Regions from separate parts of the Homo sapiens genome. Here all the other regions are linked to region 3. The links are contacts of gene promoters, found by promoter capture Hi-C in human tissues and cell types (Jung and others, 2019). All regions are on one chromosome and are shown on one strand. The core of a region is centred on a gene start or on the middle of the fragment in contact, and the rest is flanking DNA. Distances in the headings are between cores, read along the strand shown.

Evidence for each region. Contacts are between HindIII fragments. The study calls those that stand out against the background at their distance.
Region 1: a contact is called between a fragment that was not itself captured here and the fragment with the promoter of APC2 in region 3, in 1 of the 25 tissues and cell types used here (H1 embryonic stem cells).
Region 2: a contact is called between a fragment that was not itself captured here and the fragment with the promoter of APC2 in region 3, in 1 of the 25 tissues and cell types used here (spleen).

What each region holds. Positions count from the first base shown.
Region 1 is chr19:1,616,328-1,619,757 of GRCh38, reverse strand. It overlaps TCF3 (transcription factor 3), which reads left to right. Exons shown (of 19, transcript NM_003200.5): 15 at 284-442; 16 at 524-647. It also overlaps the pseudogene RNU6-1223P. Among named protein-coding and RNA genes, the nearest start is that of UQCR11, 13 kb to the right of the region's middle. The HindIII fragment of the contact is 6,389 bases long and covers 1-3,430 here.
Region 2 is chr19:1,638,843-1,642,429 of GRCh38, reverse strand. All of the region lies in intron 3 of TCF3 (transcription factor 3), which reads left to right. Among named protein-coding and RNA genes, the nearest start is that of TCF3, 12 kb to the left of the region's middle. The HindIII fragment of the contact is 9,192 bases long and covers 1-3,587 here.
Region 3 is chr19:1,448,305-1,451,370 of GRCh38, reverse strand. It overlaps APC2 (APC regulator of Wnt signaling pathway 2), which reads right to left and starts at 1,250. Exons shown (of 15, transcript NM_005883.3): 1 at 1,033-1,250. RefSeq lists a silencer at 1,204-1,403. The HindIII fragment of the contact is 30,284 bases long and covers 1-3,066 here.

The sequences.
Region 1 (3,430 bases), core at 894-3,393, 170 kb before region 3:
CCCACCCTTCCCCGACAGAATTTGCAGGACAGACGCTCCTTGAGAAGGAGAAACCTTTTTGTTAGTTTCTTGTAAATAAGCCCCAAGCTGTTATTGAGGCCTCGTGGCCGCCAAGGCACACACATTTTGTGTGTGCTCCCGGGCGCCAGATGCCTGGCATATGCAGCTTCCTGGGGAAGGGGAAGATGGGACCACCGGCCACTTGCATGCGGAAGGGACATGAATGGAGGCCTGTGGGGTCCCTCGGCTTGGGCCCCTCACCACCCATCCCCCCACCCTGCAGCAGAGTAAGATAGAAGACCACCTGGACGAGGCCATCCACGTGCTCCGCAGCCACGCCGTGGGCACAGCCGGCGACATGCACACGCTGCTGCCTGGCCACGGGGCGCTGGCCTCAGGTTTCACCGGCCCCATGTCACTGGGCGGGCGGCACGCAGGCCTGGTGAGCGCTGGGCGAGGGTGGAGCTGGGCAGTGGGCGGGGACCCGGCTCCCCCTGATGCACCCGTCTCCCCACGCCTGCAGGTTGGAGGCAGCCACCCCGAGGACGGCCTCGCAGGCAGCACCAGCCTCATGCACAACCACGCGGCCCTCCCCAGCCAGCCAGGCACCCTCCCTGACCTGTCTCGGCCTCCCGACTCCTACAGTGGTAAGCCCTTGAGCTTGGGACTGTCCGACTCCTGGTTCCAGTTGGGGAAACTGAGGCACTCTAGTGGTGGGGGTCAGGGTGGGAGCCCAGGGCAGGTGTCACCGTGGGGGCACCTGGTGACATGGGCGCCCCAGTCAGCAACTTCAGGAGGGTGGGTAAGACCGGCGGGGCCGGCGTTGGCCCTGGGCGTGTGAGGTGGACAGCTCTGGGCTGCCTCTTCATTCGCCTGCTCCCAGACGCTGTGTGCCTGGCAGCGCTCAGCACTGGGGAAGGGGCGAGGGGTGCAGCAGGATGCCTCTGCCTCAGGGGAGACAGACCAGGAGCTCGCTGCACAGTACAGGTGCCAGGGAGAAGGAACGAAGTGGCTGCGGTGGGTTGGGGGTTTTGTATGGCTTTGAAGATGGTGGCCCATGAGGCCACAAGGTGGTGTTTGGGCAGCATCTGGGAGGAGGCAAGAGTAGGCAAGTACCTGGAGGAGGAGGGTTTCAGGCAGAGGGCGCAGCCCAGGCAAAGGCCCTGGGGCTGGACTGCACCTGGGAGGAACAGCCAGGAGACCCGTGGGGTTGGAGCAGAGTGAGGAGAGGGAGAGAGGGAAGGGGGGAGGGCGGGGCAGGGCAGGTCATGCGGGGCCTTGTGGGCTGCGGGGAGGACTTGGGATTTGGCCATGAGAAAGGTGGCAGCCGTGGAGGGCTGAGGAGGGATGGGACCTGACCCAGGTGCTCACAGATACCCTCTGGTGGCTGCTTGGAGGACAGACTATGAGTGGCACCGGGAGACCAAGGCAGAGGCCACAGGGCTGGTCCAGGGGCCTTGGAGGGGTGAGCAGTGGGTGGGCCCTGCATCTCCTGAAGGCGGGGCCCACAGGATTTGTGATGGACAGGACTTGAGGGTGAGAGAAGGCAGGGTGGCTCTGGGATTTCTGGCCCGAGCTGTGGGTGACACTGGGGCTGGGAACTCCGTAAGGAAGGGGACAAAGGAAAAGGTTGGGGACAAATCTGGACCTGGGCCTGGGGATTGTTGAGTGTCTCAGACACCCATGAGAGGCCCAGGAGAAGGTGGGGTCATTGTGGGCGCTGTCCTGGCCCTGTGCCTTCCACCAGCCCAGGAATCCTGCCTGCTTTCCAGGCAGACTTTCCAAGTACCTTGATTCTATCACTCCTAGGCCAGGGCATCTCACCGCAGCGGCTCTGCCCCCAGGGGACACTGGGTGATGTCTGGGGACATCTACAGTTGTCAGGGCTGAGGGGAGCTCCTGGCATGGAGTGGGTGGGGGCCAGGGATGCTGCTCAGCACCCTGCAGTGCCCAGGACGGCCCCACCCCAGAGAAGGGTCCGGACCCACAGGTCAGCAGTTTCCAGGGGCAGCCCCAAGCTTAGTCTTTCACCCATAGGCTCCCCTCTGTTTCCTTCCTGTCCTTCACTTCGTGTGCTGAGGCCTGGGCTGGTCCTGGTGGCTGGCGTTGGCCGATTGGAGCAGAGTTCACTGTGGGGAGCGGGTGCATTTCTGAGGCTCCCCCTCAGGGTACGGGGGTCTCAGGGGATGGCAGCTGGTTTGCTCCATGTGAGCCCTGACTGATTCCTGGACTCCCCAAGCCCGGGTTTTGGGGGTGGCCCAGGCCCTGCTGAATGCAGAGTGGCCGCATTCATTTGGGGCACTGTGTACCCTTAAGCCACATGTTTTGCAATTATTGTTCTTGAGCTTCATGAACACGGCGTCCCACTAGCGTGTTCTTTACACGCTGGTTTGCTGGCTTATGTTGTGTGTGGGGTACATGTGTGGTGTGAGCGGCTGGGGTCCCATTGTGAGTGTGCCGTTGGCCCTGGCCCGGGCGTGGGGCTGTAGGTCATTCCAACATCACGCTTTCCTGCCAACCTGCTGATCAAGGGTGTGATACACCTGTTGTCAATTCAGAGGAAAGGCTGATGAATTATTTTCCAAAGCAGCCAAGTTGCCCTCCCACAGGCAAGATTTTGACTGTTCAGGTCCCTCAACTTTGCTAGCTGACTGGGTATGAAAGGGTAGCGCAAAGCCACCCTAATTTGCATTTCCTTAATCTCTTGATGTGCTGAAGCGGACTTCCACGTGTTTCTAGCCATGTGGTTTCCTTGTCTGTGAGATGCCTTTTTGGATACCTTGCTTATTTTTCTACTGAGTTACTTTCTTTTTGTCCTTTCCCATTGATTGTGGGAGATCACCTCCTGGTTGGCTACATCTGTGGTGGGTGTCTTCTATTCTTTGGCAAATGCTTTTCTTTTCCTGGTATCTTTGCTGATCAGGAACTCTCAATTCTGATATAGTCCAGCTTACTGATTTTTGTTTTTTCTTTTTTACTTGTTTTGTTTTGAGACAGGGTCTCACCCTGTCACACCAGAGTGCAGGGGCATGATCACAGCTCACGGTAGCCATGACCCCCTGGCCTCAAGTGACCCTTCCACCTCAGCCTCCCAAAGTGCTGGGATCACAGGCGTGAGTCAGCCACTGTGCCCGGCCTGTGTTCTTTCAAAAGCAGCGCTTTGAGCACTTGCTTGGACAGCTCTTGGACTAAAATGAGAATGATAAAGATTAGCATAGCATCTGCACAAGGGTGACGTGGACATTCCTGAAGTGTTCCAAAGTTTTATTCTTTTTTTTTTTTTTGAGACGGAGTCTTGCTTTGTCACCCAGGCTGGAGTACAGTGGCGCAATCTTGGCTCACTGCAACCTCCGCCTCCTGGGTTCAAGTGATTCTCCTGCCTCAGCCTCCCAAGTAGCTGGGATTACAGGTACCCACCACCACAGCTGGC
Region 2 (3,587 bases), core at 102-2,601, 190 kb before region 3:
GTACCGTCCCGCCCACCCGTGGTGCTGCGTCAGACCTAGGAAGCCGACATTGGTGCCGTCCACAGATCCTGATCAGATTCCACCGGCTTTACACGCACGTGTGTGTGTCTGTGTGTGCGTGCGGGTGTGTGTCTGTGCGTGTGCGCGTCTGTGCGTGTGCGTGCGTGTGTGCGCACGTGTGTGTGCGTCTGCGCGTGCGTGTCTGTGCGTCTGCGCGTGTGTGCGTGTCTGCGTCTGTGTCTGCGTGCGTGTGTGTACGCGTGCGTGTGTGTGTGTGTGTGTGTGTGTGTGTGTGTGTGTAGTTCTGTGCAGTTTTGAGACATGCACCTTCTTTAAGCCCAGGAATCACCAATCTGTTCTTCATCTGTACGATTTTTTTTTTTTAGGGACCAGGTCTCACTCTGTTGTCCAGACTGGAGTGCAGTGGTGTGATCATAACTGACTGTAGCCTTGAAGTTCTGGGCTCAACTGATCCTCCCACCTCAGCCTTGTGAGCAGCTGCGACCACCTAATTAAAAAAATATGTATTTTGTAGAGGGCTGGGTCAGCGGCTCACACTGGTAATCCCCAGCACTTTGGGAGGTTGAGATGGGAGAATTGCCGGAGCCCAGGAGTTCAAGACCAGCCTGGGCAACATGGAGAAACCCTGTCTCTGTTTAAAAAAAAAGAAAAATTTCAGCTGGGTGCGGTGGCTCACACCTATAATCCCAGCATTTTGGGAAGCCAGGGTGTGTGGATCACATGAGGCCAGGAGTTCAAGACCAGCCTAGTCAACGTGGCGAAACCCCGTCTCTGCTAAAAATACAAAAATTAGCTGGGCGTGGTGGTGCGTGCCTGTCATCCCAGCTACTCGGGAGGCTGAGACACGAAAAGCACTTGAACCTGGGAGGCGGAGGTTGCAGTTAGCTGAGATTGCGCCACTGCACTCTGGCCTCGGGGACAGAGGGAGACCGTGTCTGAAGAATAAAAAAATATTGTCTAGATGGGGTCTTGCTGTGTTCTCCAGGCTGATCTTGTATTCATGAGCTCAAGTGATCCTCTTACCTCAGCCTCCCAGAGTGCTGTGATTACATGTGTGAGCCACTGTGCCCAGCCCAATTTTTCACTTTGAGTATTTTGTGTAAATGGAATCCTATAGTTTGCAACCTTCTGAGATTAGCTTTTATTCTGTTACGTTAGCATAATTCCCTGGAGATCCAGCCAAGCTGTTGGCTGTATCTTTTTTTTTTCTTTTTATTGCTGCCTCATTAACTTTTTTTTTTTTTTTGAGACCGAGTTTTGCTCTTGTTGCCCAGGCTGGAGTGCAGTGGCACGATCTCAGCTCACTGCAACCTCCGCCTCCGCCTCCGCCTCCTGAGTTCAAACGATTCTCCTGCTTCAGCCTCCTGAGTAGCTGGGAATATAGGTGCCTGCCACCATGCCTGGCTAATTTTTTGTAGTTTTAGTAGAGACATGGTTTCGCCACGTTGGCCAGGCTGGTCTCAAACTCCTGACCTCCAGTGATCCACCCACCTCGGCCTCCCAAAGTGCTGGGATTACAGGCGTGAACCACCGCGCCTGGCCGCCTCATTAACTTTTTAACAACATCAGTAATACAACAATTTACATCACTTTTTTTTTTTTTTTGAGACGGAGTCATGCTCTGTCACCCAGGCTGGGGTGCAGTGGCGTGATCTCAGCTCACTGCAAGCTCCGCCTCCCAGGTTCACGCCATTCTCCTGCCTAGCCTCCCTAGTAGCTGGGACTACAGGTGCCGGCTAAGTTTTTGTATTTTTAGTAGAGACGGGGTTTCACCTTGTTAGCCAGGATGGTCTCCATCTCCTGACCTTGTGATCCGCCCGCCTCGGCCTCCCGAAGTGCTGGGATTACAGGTGTGAGCCACTGCTTACATCAGTGTTTCTTGAGCACTGTGCATTGGACACAAAGCTTGGCTTATTCACTGGGAATTCTCAGTTCTAACAGGTTAGCGAAATAGGTGTAATTATTACCGTATTTTACTGGTAAAGAAGCTGAAACTTAGAGAGTTTAGTAACCATTGCGCTAATTTTTTGTATTTTTAGTAGAGGCAGGGTTTCACCGTGTTAGCCAGGACAGTCTCGGTCTCCTGACCTGGTGATCCTCCCGCCTCGGCCTCCCAAAGTGCTGGGATTACAGGCATGAGCCACCGAGCCCGGCCTCATTTGGCTGTTTGATAATGTTTGTAGGCGCCTGTCTGTCCACCCGTGCCAAAAGTGCTGGGATTCCAGGCCTGACCCTCTGCGCCTGGCCCCGTTCGGCTCTTTGATAACGTTTGGAGGCGCCTGTCTTTCCACCTGCGCAGGGAGGCTGAGGGCGCCGCGGTCCTCAATGCGCCAACTTTTAGGTGGTTTCTTTGTTCTTGACTCGGCTGCCCTGTGCATTTTCTCTCTCTCGTTGATTTTTCTTCTGGAGAATCTGCTTCATTGGCAAATCGATATTGATCAATTGATCAATTTTCCTCTTTATCGGCATTTCTTCTCTTTCTAAAGTTTTTGGTGACTTTCAGATCACAGGCCCCTTTTGCTGACTTCTGCCCTCTTCTGTTCCATCAGTGTGGTGTTGAGGGTTCCACCCCGTGAACCCCATCCCATTGGTTTCCATAATGCATGTTTTTCTCATATTACTGACATTTGTTCCTTTTTTTTTTTTTTTTTTTTTTTCCTAATTTCCTCTTCAGGTCAGGTTGCTTCAGAGGTTTCTGAGTTCCAAGTTGGAGGTCCTTTCTTGATTTCTAGATCTCCAGTGCCAAAACTCAGCTTTGGCTTAAACGGTAGCTACTGTTTGGAGGACGCAGAGCTCCTCTGCCGAGGCTGAAACATGGATTATTTTTGTCCTTCTTTGTGAGTACTTGAGGGATAGTTGGATGTGGAGCTGCGAGGCCTTTGAACCATATTTAGATTTTTAATCTGTTTAATGTCAGGCTGAGAGCAGCGCCATCCCCCTCTGTTCTGTTTGTCGGTTTCTCTGTTGACGTATTTAGATGCCAGGATTGTGGGCTTGTGTGGGCTGAGACAGTGGGATTTCGTTGTGGGTCGAGCCATTGTCAACAACAAAAAAATCCGTTCCTTGGCTGGTGGTGGTGGCTCATGCCTGTAATCCCAGCACTTTGGGAGGCCAAGGCAGGTGGATCTTCTGAGGTCAGGAGTTCAAGACCAGCCTGGCCCACAGGGCGAAACTCCATCTCTACTAAAATATAAAAAATTAGCCAGGCATGGTAGCAGGTGCCTGCAATCCCAGCTGCTCGGGAGGCTGAGGCAGGAGAATCACTTGAACCTGGGAGGCAGAGGTTGCAGTGAGCTGAGATCGCGCCACCGCACTCCACCCTGGGCGACACAGCGAGACTCTGTCTCAGAAAAAGAAACCTCCCTTGAATTGAAACTTCGATATGAAGGTTGCAACCCTTCCTTTTTGTTGGTGTGGCTTGGCAGATCTTTGTGCTCCTGGTTGTATCTCCTGAGTCGCTTGTTTCAAAACTGTCTTTGGTCGGCACCGTGTTTTCAGATTAAAGACGTTAAGCACCCGTCCATCTTCGTTCTCAGCTTTTCCTTCCATCGTCTTATTTTGTTTTT
Region 3 (3,066 bases), core at 1-2,500:
GGTCACCATCCCATGCCCAGCCAGGTGGAAGGACCAGATGACGTGCAAAGCAACACATGTCTGCCTCCTGCTCCCCAAACCCAGGCCTCCCCCACGTGGTTCTTCTCAGCTGACCGAAGCCAAGCCTCAGACACCTTCCCTCTCCCCACATTCGGTGGTCATTTCTGCATCCTCATCAGACTAAGCTAGTCCCTCCAAGCTCTGCCCAGCGGGATCATGCCTCCCCCAGCTCCTGACACCCCTCTGTGAGGACATTCTGATCAGCCTCTTCCTGGCCTCCCACAGTCCCCCATGCACAGCCAGAGGGAGCTTTAAACGTCACAAGTGAGATCCCATTTCTCCCATGCTCAAACACCTTCCATGGCTCCCCAGTGCCCTCAGGATACGCTCCGACTCCTCCATGTACACCGCGACTCACTTAGAGGCTGGAGGCTCTCTTCTCTCAGGCCTTTGCACGTGCAGTTGCCCTGCCTAGAGCACCTTTTCTAAGTCCTGCCATCCCACACAGTGCAGCTTCTTCCACGAAGCTCTTCTGCCTACTTTCACCCCCAGGTTGCATCGTGTAGCCTCCTGGGGGCCTTCCTGAGCGATCACTCCCTGAAGGCACCATGACTGGGGGCTGGTCTTATTGAGCGGGCTGCATTTCAGGGGAGGGAGGCACAGGTATGGGAAGCCAGGCCCAAAGGGGCCTTTCTCCTTCCTTTAATCCAAACCCCCTCTTTCCAGAGAGGGAAACTGACACCCAGAGAGGTGCAGCAACACCCCCGAAGACACACCACTGGCCTGCCCATCCCTTCCTCCGATCACCTCAGGGAGGTCCGGATGGTGAAGCCCGTGAGTGGGTGTGTGCGCAGGACCGGCTGCAGAAACGCTGACGCCCAGCTCACCGGGACTCAGTTTCCCCTCCAGCTCCCACTCTGGGGAAATGGAGGGTCCAGAGTCTGTGCTGACGGGCAATGCTGAGAGCCAGGGATGGAAACCTCGACGCGAGGCGGAGGTCGCGCCCCTGCCCTCCTCCCCGAGGACACACACCCGCTTACGTGCAGCTGGGCTGGCGGGGCGCCTGGGTCTGGGGCCTCCTCCCTCTGCGCGGCTCCGCGGGCCCCACCGGAAATCCCGGCCCGGGGTGGCCTCGGAGCGCGCGGGCTCCGGGGTCTCCGCGGCGCGGGCAGGGGCTCCGGGGCGGACAAAGCCCGGTCCGGGCCTGGGCAGGCGGCGCTGCCGCTCCTAGCGCTGGGCGAGACCACCGCGAGCGGGGGAGGATGCGGGATGAGGGATGCGGGTGAGACAGCCAATGAGGGCGCGGGAAGACGGGCTGGTGCCATGGCAACAGCCAATGGCGGCCCGGGGCGGGGACCGGCGTCGGCCGCGGGGCGTCGGGCCTCCGCGCGGGCTCAGGGGCCGTGAGTGCGGGGGGCGAAACCCCCCCGAGGGAAGGGGGTGCCCCGAGGACCAAGATTCCTGTGTCCCGCACTTTATTGCAGGGTGCAACGGCCTCTTAAAACCTCCTGCGTCTGGATTTGCAGAATTGGAGAGTAAAACATCAAATCCTGGATGTTACATCAGCATCTTGGCGGGGGAGGGGTTTCCAGGGCAGTGGCCGGGCTGGGGCCAGGCCTGCACCCACCCCACAGGTCCAGCCTGGCCTGGTGCAGGTGCGTCAGGGTGGGACAGGGTTCGGGTCCAGGCTGGAGCTCCCTGAGGGTCCTGCCTGGTGGGGAGGGGAGAGGGGAGGAGGGGCAGGGCCACTGGGGAGCACCTGGGACGCTGCATCTCCCCACATTTCTCCCTGTCTCCCCAACGGAGCGTCAGATCCTCCTGTAACTCCGTTGCTCTTCATGTCCCTCTCTCTTTCTGTCTCCCCCTCTGTTCTCTGTCTCTCAATCTCTGTCTCCATGTGTCTCTGCCCCTGGTGGGTGGCACACTTAATTCACCCTCACGGACCGAAGGCCAGAGGAGGGAAGGGCCAGGGGTCCCAGGAGTCGCCATCTCCAGGTGTCCTGGATGCTCCATGAGTCCCTGGAAGCCATTTGAAGGTTTAACACACAGAGCCCGTCCCTGCAGCTCGGAGCAGCCCTTCCTGCTCTGGACACAGACTCACAGCACAGAAAGGGAGGCGACTGGGGCCAGAAGAGTGATTTTTTTCCGTGCTGGGCAGGCAGGGCAAATCATTCGCCGCTCAACCCTCGGTTTCCTCCTCTGTAAAATGGAGAGGAGGCGGAAGATTCTGCAAGGGCTGGTGCAGGGAATGATAGGAGAGGGTGGGAAGGTCCGAGTATTCAAGGCCCCGTAGACAAAGGCAAGGGAGGACCCGTGCTGTTTCCTGTTGGGCCTTGAGCTGAAGACCCGAGGGCCTTGTCCCGGGCCAGCACTGCCAGGGGCTGAGAGCCCTTCGGCCTGGCTGTCTGGGAGCCCCCAGAGCTGGACGCAGCTGTCCCCACTGGTTGGGTCTGGGGAGGCAATGCAGTGGGCAGACACAGGGGATCTTTTCTTTTTTCTTTTTCTTTTTTTTCTTTTTTTTTTTTTTGAGACGGAGTCTTGCTCTGTAGCCCAGGCTGGAGTGCAGTGGCACGTTCTCGGCTCACTGCAAGCTCCGCCTCCCAGGTTCACGCCATTCTCCTGCCTCAGCCTCCCGAGTAGCTGGGACTACAGGCGCCCGCCACCACGCCCAGGCTAATTTTTTGTATTTTTTAGTAGAGACGGGATTTCACGTTAGCCAGGATGGTCTCGATCTCCTGACCTCGTGATCCACCCGCCTCGGCCTCCCAAAGTGCTGGGATTACAGGCGTGAACCACCACGCCCGGCCTTTTTTTTTTTTTTTTTTTAGATGGGGTCTTGCTCTGTCCCCCAGGCTGCAGTGCAGTGGCGCCATCTCGGCTCACCGCAACCTCCGCCTCCTGGGTTCAAGTGATTCTCCTGCCTCAGACTCCTCAGTAACTGGGATTACAGGCATGTACCACCTTGCCAGCTAATTTTTGTATTTTTAATAGAGAGGGGGTTTCACCGTGTTGGTCGGGCTGGTCTCAAACTCCTGACCTCATGATCCGCCCGCCTCGAAGGGGATT